3 separate regions of the Homo sapiens genome follow, and all the other regions are linked to region 1. The links are contacts of gene promoters, found by promoter capture Hi-C in human tissues and cell types (Jung and others, 2019). All regions are on one chromosome and are shown on one strand. Each heading gives the region's core, a stretch centred on a gene start or on the middle of the fragment in contact. The rest is flanking DNA. Distances are from core to core; before and after follow the strand shown.

Region 1 (2,962 bases), core at 139-2,638:
ACTCAATCTCAGCATCACAGCCCAGCCAAGGAGGAGGCCACCTTCCCCCCACACATTGCAGCCACCCACACTCACACAGGTTGTGCTTGCGGGCAATGTAGCACAAGATGGCGTTGCTCTGGGTGATCTTGTGAGCCCCATCAATCAAGTAGGGCAGCTGGATGGATGGGAAACCGGCGAAGCTCAGTTGGGCCACCAGGCTCCCCAGCATCCCCTTCCCATAAGCAAGAGCAGAGAGGAGACCGGGCACTCACTGTGCCTGCTCATGGCAGGACTGAAATAAGAATACTGTCACATGAACGAATGCAGGTGGACACAGAACATCATGGAAGGACTGTTTAGACAGCCAGGAGTGAGAGGAATTGGGCAGAAGACTCCTGATCTTAACACCTCTAAGCTGGGGAGAGGAGATGCAGTCAGAGACACGTTGCACTTTCCCCCAAAACCGCCCCTTCCCCTGCACCTACATTGGGAAAGTCCAGGCCCAGCTTGAATTTTTCATTCAGCCACTGGCTTCTGTCATAATCAGGAGCTGTGGTGGGGAAGAAGAAGTGAAAACAAACCTCCCCAGAGCCCAGCCCTCCTTCCCGGGGACCCTCCCACGGAGCCAGTGGCAAGATCCCTGAGACAGGTGGATCTAGAATCTGACCACTCAGTCCCACATCCCAGGGTTCAGGGACAAAGAATCCCGCTGAGGGCTCTGGACCCCACACAGCTAAGGCTTCCAGGGTTTAGGCAAGCCCTGAGGGACACCCGTCCCAATTAGACAGGGGGCCCAGCATCCCACCCCAGCATTCTGCCTTGCAAGGCCAGAGGGCTCCCTCACCGGGGCTCAGGGAAGAGACAGCCTGCAGCTCCAGCAGGGGAGGCCTGCAGAGGCAGCCACAGGTGGCCACCATGGGTTGCTTGGTGCCAACTTAGCGTGAGTGGGCAGAGCCCGAACACGAGGGTGCCATTACCGTCCCCCATCGTGTACTTCTTTTCCTCATAGCTTGAGTCTGTGTATTCCAGGAGCAGGCGGATGGCGTGGGCCAGCTGGGAGAGATGGCCCGCAGGTCGCGTCAGAGATGGAGGGTCCCTGACTTTGTCTGCACCAGGGAAGCCCCCAGTTTACACTGCACGTACCCGTTGCCTCCTCTACCCGCCCACACCCCCAACACACACACAGCGGCATGCACAGGCCCTTCTGAGGCGGGCAGCCCTGAAGAGGAACGGTCCCTAGAGTCCGTCCCGCAGCTGCTTCGCACTTCCCTCCCCTGCGCCCTCGTCCCACCGTCCAGCGGACCCTCGCTCACCCCGCGGATGTCCCAGTACCCCAGTATCATGGGCATGGTGCTGGTTGGTGCGGATTCCGCAGACAGGCCTAAACCGAGCAGGGCTCAGAGTATAAGAGCTCCGGAGAGGGGACAGGCGGGGCCTTGCTGCGACCCCGCCCCTCGGCCCGCCACAACCCGAAAGGCGCCATTCTGGAGGCCCGGGAGAGGGCGCCTGGGGCTGCACTCAGTAAGACTTCCTCCCGCCTCCCAGGCCCGAGGGTTCCGGGAGCGAAGTCAGGGCGCCCAGAAGCCCAAGGCGGGGCTCGGCCTCGCCAGCTTCCCTACCCAGCCCTGAGGCTCCACGAGTCCATCCAGCCCTTGCTAGGTCCACAGCGACTTGGCTGTGCGCTTGAGACACCAGCCAGATCCTAACGGAGCAAAGCTCTTCTCCCTTCTCCTCCCTGCCCGCGGTGTCCCTCAGCCTTCTCTCCGCTGCCGAGTTCCCAAGGGCTCTGGGAGACTCCGGCTGCAGGGGTCAGACTAAAAAGTGGTGGCCCCAACCTGGGAATTTAATTCAGCCCCTGTCACTGTAAGAGCAGGACTTCCTCTGATCCGAAAGCTACTCCCAGGGCTTAGTCTCCCCTCTAGCCCCGCCTACACAGGAACAGTGTCAGTGGTATAGGAAGGACCCCCAGGAAAAGGGCCAGAGTAAAGGAAATGTGGTCTGTGTTTTCTGTTAGGGGCCCTCGGGTACTGAGTCCTTCGGTCATCTGGCTAAGTACTGTGTAAATTAGCCACTTCGTATTTTGGCACAATTTATGAATCGAAATCCAAGGATCAGATCCAGCAAGTTGGTGAGGTATCTGAGGTGCCCCCTAGAAATGTCCAGCCAGTCCACTAGGTGAACCTCACAGAGACCGGAACAGCAACAGCAACAGTGAGTGCAGTGGCCACAGAGAGCAGGCGAGGGAGGATGGAAGAACTTCCCGGACCAAACTGAGGGTCCGGCTGCTATTTCTCTAGGCCCAATAACGAGATGCAGATCAAATGGGGAGGAAGAGAGGTTTTATTTCTGCAACCGGTAACAGGGAGAAGGCCTAGAAATTACCACCAGACCAACTCAATATTACAAAGTTTTCCAGAGCATATATACCTTCTAAGGTATATGTCTACAAGTAAGTGTGCATTCATCTAAAGACATAAGTGATTAACTTCTTTAATCTGTAACTGAGGTCTGGGTCCTGAGGACCTTATTCTGGAGCCTCAGTCTATTTATTTAATCTAAATGGGTCCAGGTGCGGGGGATGATTACCCTTATCTTGTCTCCTGCTAAATCACGGAGGTTTGGGGAGTTCCTTCAGACGCCCAATAAACTTGTTTGTGGAGGCCTGGGGAGTTTCTTCAGACTCACAATAAAACTTGTTTAATTCTAAATAGGTCCTGTTAAGAATTCCTTCATTGTTTTGTCATGCTTTAAGGCCCAGGAAAGGCCTAAGCAAAACTCTTGGTGGGCTTTTGTTACATCCAGCCTCTGTATAAAGGTACTGGCTTTTTTCAGCTTTTAATATTTAACTTCACCACTCAGTCAGTACTGAAACAGTTGTTATGGAGGCCTGTGTTAGTGACGCCTGGCCTGCCACAGAACCTGTCCCTCAGAGAAGCCAGAACCCTGTCCTGCTGAGGAGGGAGGTCAGAGGATGGTGGCC
Region 2 (2,962 bases), core at 217-2,716, 200 kb before region 1:
CCCTACATCCCAAGCTAAAGGGCACCTTGGATCCCAAAGCCCACTTCTACCTTCAGGGGATGAGCAGAGATTTGCCTCAGGATGGGAGGGCCCTTCCTAAGGAAGCCCTGACCCTCTGGAAACTTCTCCCTCTCCACCTCCCCACCACCCACTGCAAGCTGCTGGGAATTCCCCACTTCCTGGTAGGAACTATAGAGCCCCAGGGGGAGTTTCCTCAGCCCTGGAATTCAGGACACTTTCCTGCTTTTATGATACTGTCTTCACCCTCTGCATACCAACCCCTCCCCAATACAAATTGGTGGCAAGTAGGTGGAGGAAGGAGGGTCCACTGGAGAACCCCCCCTTACCACCCAGCCCAGGAGCAAACAATTTCTCCCCAGGGCTCAGAAGCTGCCTGTGAGCTTCTTGTTTGGGGCTCACACTGAGTTCCCCCTGTCCTTTATTTGAGATGAGTGACTCGTGACACCACAACTGCTGAATCTACAGCCTCCAAAACCATGCTGGGGTCCAATCTCTAGCCCGGGCAGGAGGCATTCTGCTGGTGCATCTCAGTGTGCCCCCACGCTGTCCCGGTAAGTCACTCCAGCCTGGTCCCTGGAGTTCTTGGCCCTGTCTCTGCTTGCTGGAAGTGCCCCTTCCCTGTCCGTTTCCTGGCAGCGTGTAGGAAAGAATGATGGACAACAGGCCAAAGCTGGGAGGTCTTGTTCGGTCAGCCAGCCTCAGGGAGCCCAGCTGGGATGAGCATCAGCTTGCTGGCATCTGGGGTCTAGACAGCAGTCACATGAGTTGTGTGCACTTGTCTAGTCTGAGACACATCCCAGGCCAACTGTTTGCTCATGTGTCCCCAGAGCACCTGCTACTTCCGGGAAGCTCTCTTGTAACTCATTTCAGAAAACACCCAATCTGCCAAGGCTTCGCTACAAGGCACTGGAAGAGAGAAGAATAAAAGAATGGAGAAGACAGAGCTCCTGCCTTCCAGGAGTCTAGAGGCCCATCCTAACAATCATCACTGTGGTTTAAGATGTGCCAGCCTCTGGAATGAGGTGTGGGGACTCAGCGATAAGTAAAACATTTCTCTGAACTTCAGAAATTTAGATTGTAGCTGGGGAGAGAGACATATAAACTGGTAATTCTACTACATGGTGGAATTACCTGAAAAGCCAGGCAGCTCCTCCCTCCAGCCTCAGCTGAGATGTCATCTTCCCACAGGAAGTCTTCCCTGACCCTCGTCTGGGTAGACGTCCTTCAAGCATCACAGCATATACCACTAAGCTGTGCCATTGCCTGGCAGCCTAGCAGAAACTCCCATTCCCCCATCACCAAAACATGAACACTCTGAAGGCAGGGACTGGCCTTCTGTCTTTGTGTCCTCAGCGTCTCACACAACTAAACATATTTATAGATAAGTGTTACATGAACGATTTCTAAACAGTTGACTGCAATACAAGGCTGACAATATATGCTAAATAGAGATTTGACAACATGCTGGCTTTGTTGTAGAGAAAGGGCTGATTAATTTTGAACTATGAGGATAAAAAAGGCACCAAAGAGAAGGTGTGATTGCGGCTAAGCCCTATGGGATGCACAGGCTCTTGCCAGCCAGAGAAACAGGAGGAGAGCATGAGTCAGGAAAGTACATGCTTTGTTACAGCTAACATACAAAAGCCCACAGGGACTGGCGCATAGGACATGGAGGGAGGAGATGTAGGTGGTCAGGCGAGGAGGAGTCTTGGTATCGTGCTAAGCAAGGAGTGTCGTCTTTGTTCTGTAGACACAGAGACCCTCTGAGAAGTTTCCATGACAGGAGTCATCTAAACTGACCCGCATTTTGCAGAGGCTCTGCTGACGGCTGTGGGAAGGGTGTATTTTGGAGAGTTTATTTCTAGGAGTGTCCTCTCTTTGTCCTCTCTCCCCTGGAAGGGGGAGCTGGGGAAAGTTGGAGGGAAAGGGTGGAGCAGATAAATCAGTTAAGAAGCAATGTAATGTTAGGAGACTGGTGGCAATAACATGAATCAGAACAGGTACAGTGGGAATAAATAGAAAGAGGCAGAGTTGGTGACATGAGAGTGAGACTGAATTATCTACACAGAGTGGCTGGGAGGACATGAGAGAGGAGCAGGCTCCAGGAGTGGGGGAAGGGGAGGAGGCGTTCCATTCTGGGCTGCCATCAGCATGGGAGTAGAGGACGAATCTTAGATTTTCTCAATCCTGATTCATCTTGATAACAAGCTATGTGAGGACTTTGAGGAACCCATTTTGTTCAAAGCTTACACAAGTGACAAAATCTCTTCCTATTATGGAAACATCTCACAGAGCCCTCCCAGTTTTAACTACCACCATCCCACATACACCCACCACCATAGCAACCCACATGGTTGAGACACAGTGGGGTGTTGCCAGGAGAGGTAAGGTGTGGTGTGTACAGGGAGCCCCTGTCATCATCGGGATGACTTTATGTCCGTGAGAGTGGCAGCCCACACCCTAGCCTCTGAGCTGCTGGCTTTCCCCATCTCTGACAACCTTCTGTCCCACTGTGACTTGGCCACCCACTCCCATCACCACTCCCTAGACTTAGTCACCACCCAGAACTCCCTCACCTCTGAAATCACTAATCTTGATGGCCTTCTCTATACTCTCAGCTTCTCCACTCAATCACTTTGTCTACTCTTGACCTCTGACCCCATCAGGTACCCCGTCCATGGATCCCTCTGTTTTCTTTCAATCCAGCAGCCCCCTTTTTCCTGCATTCTCTTTTCTCACACCTGAGATGCACAGCTCAGAATTTTATTCATTCTCTCCTATAACATAAATTCCCCCTTGTTGCACCGCCTGCCAAAATTCCACCGGTGGATGAAGCAGCTGTCCTTTTCCTCTGAACTGCACTGGCATGACAGGTGATTCTGCAGGAGAAGGCCACAGTAGCAAGCTGGCCAGGTCCTCCAACACTGTGACCACCAAGCTT
Region 3 (2,962 bases), core at 241-2,740, 190 kb after region 1:
GAAGGGCAGCCCTCCTCTATTTGGAAAGTTGTTTTTCACTTCAGGAGGAACAACCAAGGTGACGAGGGGTGGAGCTACTGCACAACCAGCCACATCAGACAAGTCAACCTTGGCAGTCAGTGAAATGACAGCTGTTGATGTCAGAGCACTCCCATACTCTGCATTTATATAGTTTTTCATCTGCAAAGCAGTTTTTCTATGGCTGACAATTTGGCTGACAGGATGAAGCTGATAAGGAGAGCAAGTCTGATGAGGACTACTTGGAGTTTGGAGTTCTCTCTTCTGTTTTGGCCTGTGCCAAGCCCAAGGAAGTCCATGGCTGCATCTCTTCAACACCCCCCACCCACCCACCACCCACATCCTCACCACCTCCCCCAAACCACAAGAAGTTCCTTAGATTCTGGCCAAGATGTGCAATTTTGTCTGCCATGCCTTGCAGCACTTACCCTGGCTCCTCTTAGGTAGCACTTGCGGGGAGGGAGGAGGCTAATATGACAGTTTTCTTTGAGAATAGGTAAGAGTTCAGTGCATTGGTTAACCTGGCCTCTCTTCCCCCCAGTCTCTCAACTCCTTCCCTTTCTGCATGCACTTCTTGCACCACTTATCTTGTATCTCCCAGGAAACCAGTGGGGAAGCTTCACTTTCTCCACCCACATAGCAGAAAAGGCTCAGGCCCCTGCAGTGGGACGGTTGGCTTTTCTGGTCTAGTCACAGTCAGCCTGTGCTGAATGCTTCCTCTCCTGGGGCTTGAGAGAGGAAGGCTAAAGCAGCTGCCAGTCAAGCCCCTTCATCAGGCTTCTACACTCTTAGGTGGAAAATGCAAAATGGTGAAGACACTTAGACCTGCCCTGACGCCTCCAATCTAGTCAGCTTGTTTACTCTCCCTGGTTGGAACCATGGCCTGAGAGAACCAACCTGCAGTGAGCCAGGACGTGGAGCCCTGCAGTGGGACTTCTGGATGCCCTTTGGCACTGGCATACATTAGGCAGGAGTCATTGCCTCCAAGGCTGGTGTATGCGTGCATGTGCGCACACATACAGGTTGGCAAGTACTGGAGTTGGATTGTACTTTGTGCTGCATTTCCCTTACCTCCCACTGCTCCCTCACTTGGTCATAGTTTGCTTTTGGGGGGCCTGAGCAGAACTGAGCATCCTTAGAAAGCACCATGAGATAACTGGGTATCTGCTTTAAAGATAGGGGTGCTAGGGGGCCACTCATGTATACTCAGTGAGACAGAGTTGGCTCCTCAGATGCCACTGAATAGCCTGAAGTCGTTCCTTAATCTGCTTCCAACAGAGGTTAAAAACTCATCTGGGAAATCCTAGCAATAGCAGGATTATAAACTGAGATTGTTATTCTGTGATGCATCTGGTGACTAGCTGAGTCTCCTGAGTGGGTGGGTAGGGGGAAGGTCCCCTCACTGGAGGTAATTTCTGCCTACATGAAGGGGTTAAGCCCAGCGCCATGCTGGAGACGGGCTACTTCAAACCACCCTCCAGGGCAGTTCTGCCTTTCAGCTTGTCGTCTTTGTGCAGTGCTGGTGAGAACTGCTGAGGCTCTGCACACAATGCCTGACTAGTGTTTCATTCCTGGATCCCAGGACAGAAAAAGCAATTAAGATAAAAAACGAATATTCAAGCCTCTGCACTGCTGTTTTGCTGTTCCTGCTTCTTTGCATCCACTCCAGGCAGACTGCTGCTGCTCTCAGACAAATGGAATGGAAAGTATTCTTCCCCAATTTAAAACTTAAACAGAACTGCTTTCAGTGTGTGTGTGTGCGTGTGTGTGTGTGTGTATGTGAATGCCAATAAAGCACTTGGAGGAGGAGGGGACTGATCCTATTCCACGAGCCTGAAATGGGGAAAGGGAAACCAGGCTGTGGACCCTGGGAAGCCAGGGGTCCCTGCTCTGCATCTCCAATGCCTGAGGCAGGTGTTGCTCATTCTGTGGCTTCGGTAAACAGAGGGTCTGTGGCGATGCTGTTTGCTCCAGTTGCTCCTCCCTTCCTAGCTTGTCTGCTCCACTTTTCCCTCAGAAGGGCAGAATTAGGAGAGATTTAGATAGACTTGTGACCTGCAGCTCCCTACGAAGACCAGCTCCAGGAACTTCAGGCTGGACCTAGGGAGGAATTGTACTGACTCCGAGATCTGCAGTCTGCCCTGTGATTTGGGAACACCAGGTAGGCAGCACTTACGGCAAACTTCACTAGTCATGGCCGTGGTGGCATTTCTGGCAGGAGTTGGTAAGAGCTGACCTTGCATCTGGAAGGAAGAAATGTGTCCATGTTTTCTTATGATGGCCAGAACAACTCTCTGAGACTTAGATCCCCTGTCATTATCCATAACTGTTTATTGCCTAAGAAGCATAAAGCCCAAAGCCTGGCTCAGTGAAAGAGAAGGACAAGAACATAATAATACCACCTGTTTACATGTGTTTAATGCTTTGAATTTTCCAATTCCTATTAACATTCATTCTCTCATCAAACCCTCACAACATCCCTGTGAGGTAGGTCAGGCAATAAGTGGTTTGCCCACAGCCACACCAGTGATAGGGACGGAGTAAACCCATACTGCAGGTTTCCCAGCCCCCAAGCTGATGCACCTTTCATTTCATGTTACACAGGATCTTTGTGCCAACCAGACACAGGAGCATCAAGAGCACTACCAGAAGCCTCCCTGCTCTCTGAGCTTGCAGAGGGGACCCAGAAATGCTGGGCTTGAGGCATCAAGACCAGGGGTGCCCCCTGTAGGCCAAGCCAGGTAAACAGAAGGAAGGGCAGGAGTACTGGAAGTTCAGGCTCAACAGCCACCCCTGCCACCACCATAGGTCTCAGCCTAGCATACACTGTGTTCCCTACATATCTTGACCTTTGTCAGGTGCAAGTCTTATTAGTTTACTGAGAGGACTCAGTGCCCACTCCCAGACGAGAAGTCACTGCAAGGCGTGGCTAGCAGCAAGATTC

The links. The method cuts DNA at HindIII sites, captures the fragments that hold promoters and counts their contacts. A contact is called where the count stands out against the background at its distance.
Region 2: a fragment that was not itself captured here is called in contact with the fragment with the promoter of GSTM1 in region 1 in 2 of the 25 tissues and cell types used here (pancreas and thymus).
Region 3: a contact is called between a fragment that was not itself captured here and the fragment with the promoter of GSTM1 in region 1, in 2 of the 25 tissues and cell types used here (heart left ventricle and lymphoblastoid cells).

Annotation. Positions count from the first base shown.
Region 1 is chr1:109,686,243-109,689,204 of GRCh38, reverse strand. It overlaps GSTM1 (glutathione S-transferase mu 1), which reads right to left and starts at 1,388. Exons shown (of 8, transcript NM_000561.4): 1 at 1,296-1,388; 2 at 960-1,035; 3 at 468-532; 4 at 76-157. The coding sequence starts at 1,331. RefSeq lists an enhancer at 1,289-1,338. The HindIII fragment of the contact is 14,943 bases long and covers 1-2,962 here.
Region 2 is chr1:109,889,915-109,892,876 of GRCh38, reverse strand. The region is part of intron 4 of LINC01768 (long intergenic non-protein coding RNA 1768); the gene reads right to left. Among named protein-coding and RNA genes, the nearest start is that of CSF1, 19 kb to the left of the region's middle. RefSeq lists an enhancer at 2,336-2,630. The HindIII fragment of the contact is 4,600 bases long and covers 1-2,962 here.
Region 3 is chr1:109,499,888-109,502,849 of GRCh38, reverse strand. It overlaps CYB561D1 (cytochrome b561 family member D1), which reads right to left. Exons shown (of 3, transcript NM_182580.3): 3 at 2,415-2,962. Among named protein-coding and RNA genes, the nearest start is that of CYB561D1, 7.3 kb to the right of the region's middle. RefSeq lists an enhancer at 2,862-2,962. The HindIII fragment of the contact is 8,294 bases long and covers 1-2,962 here.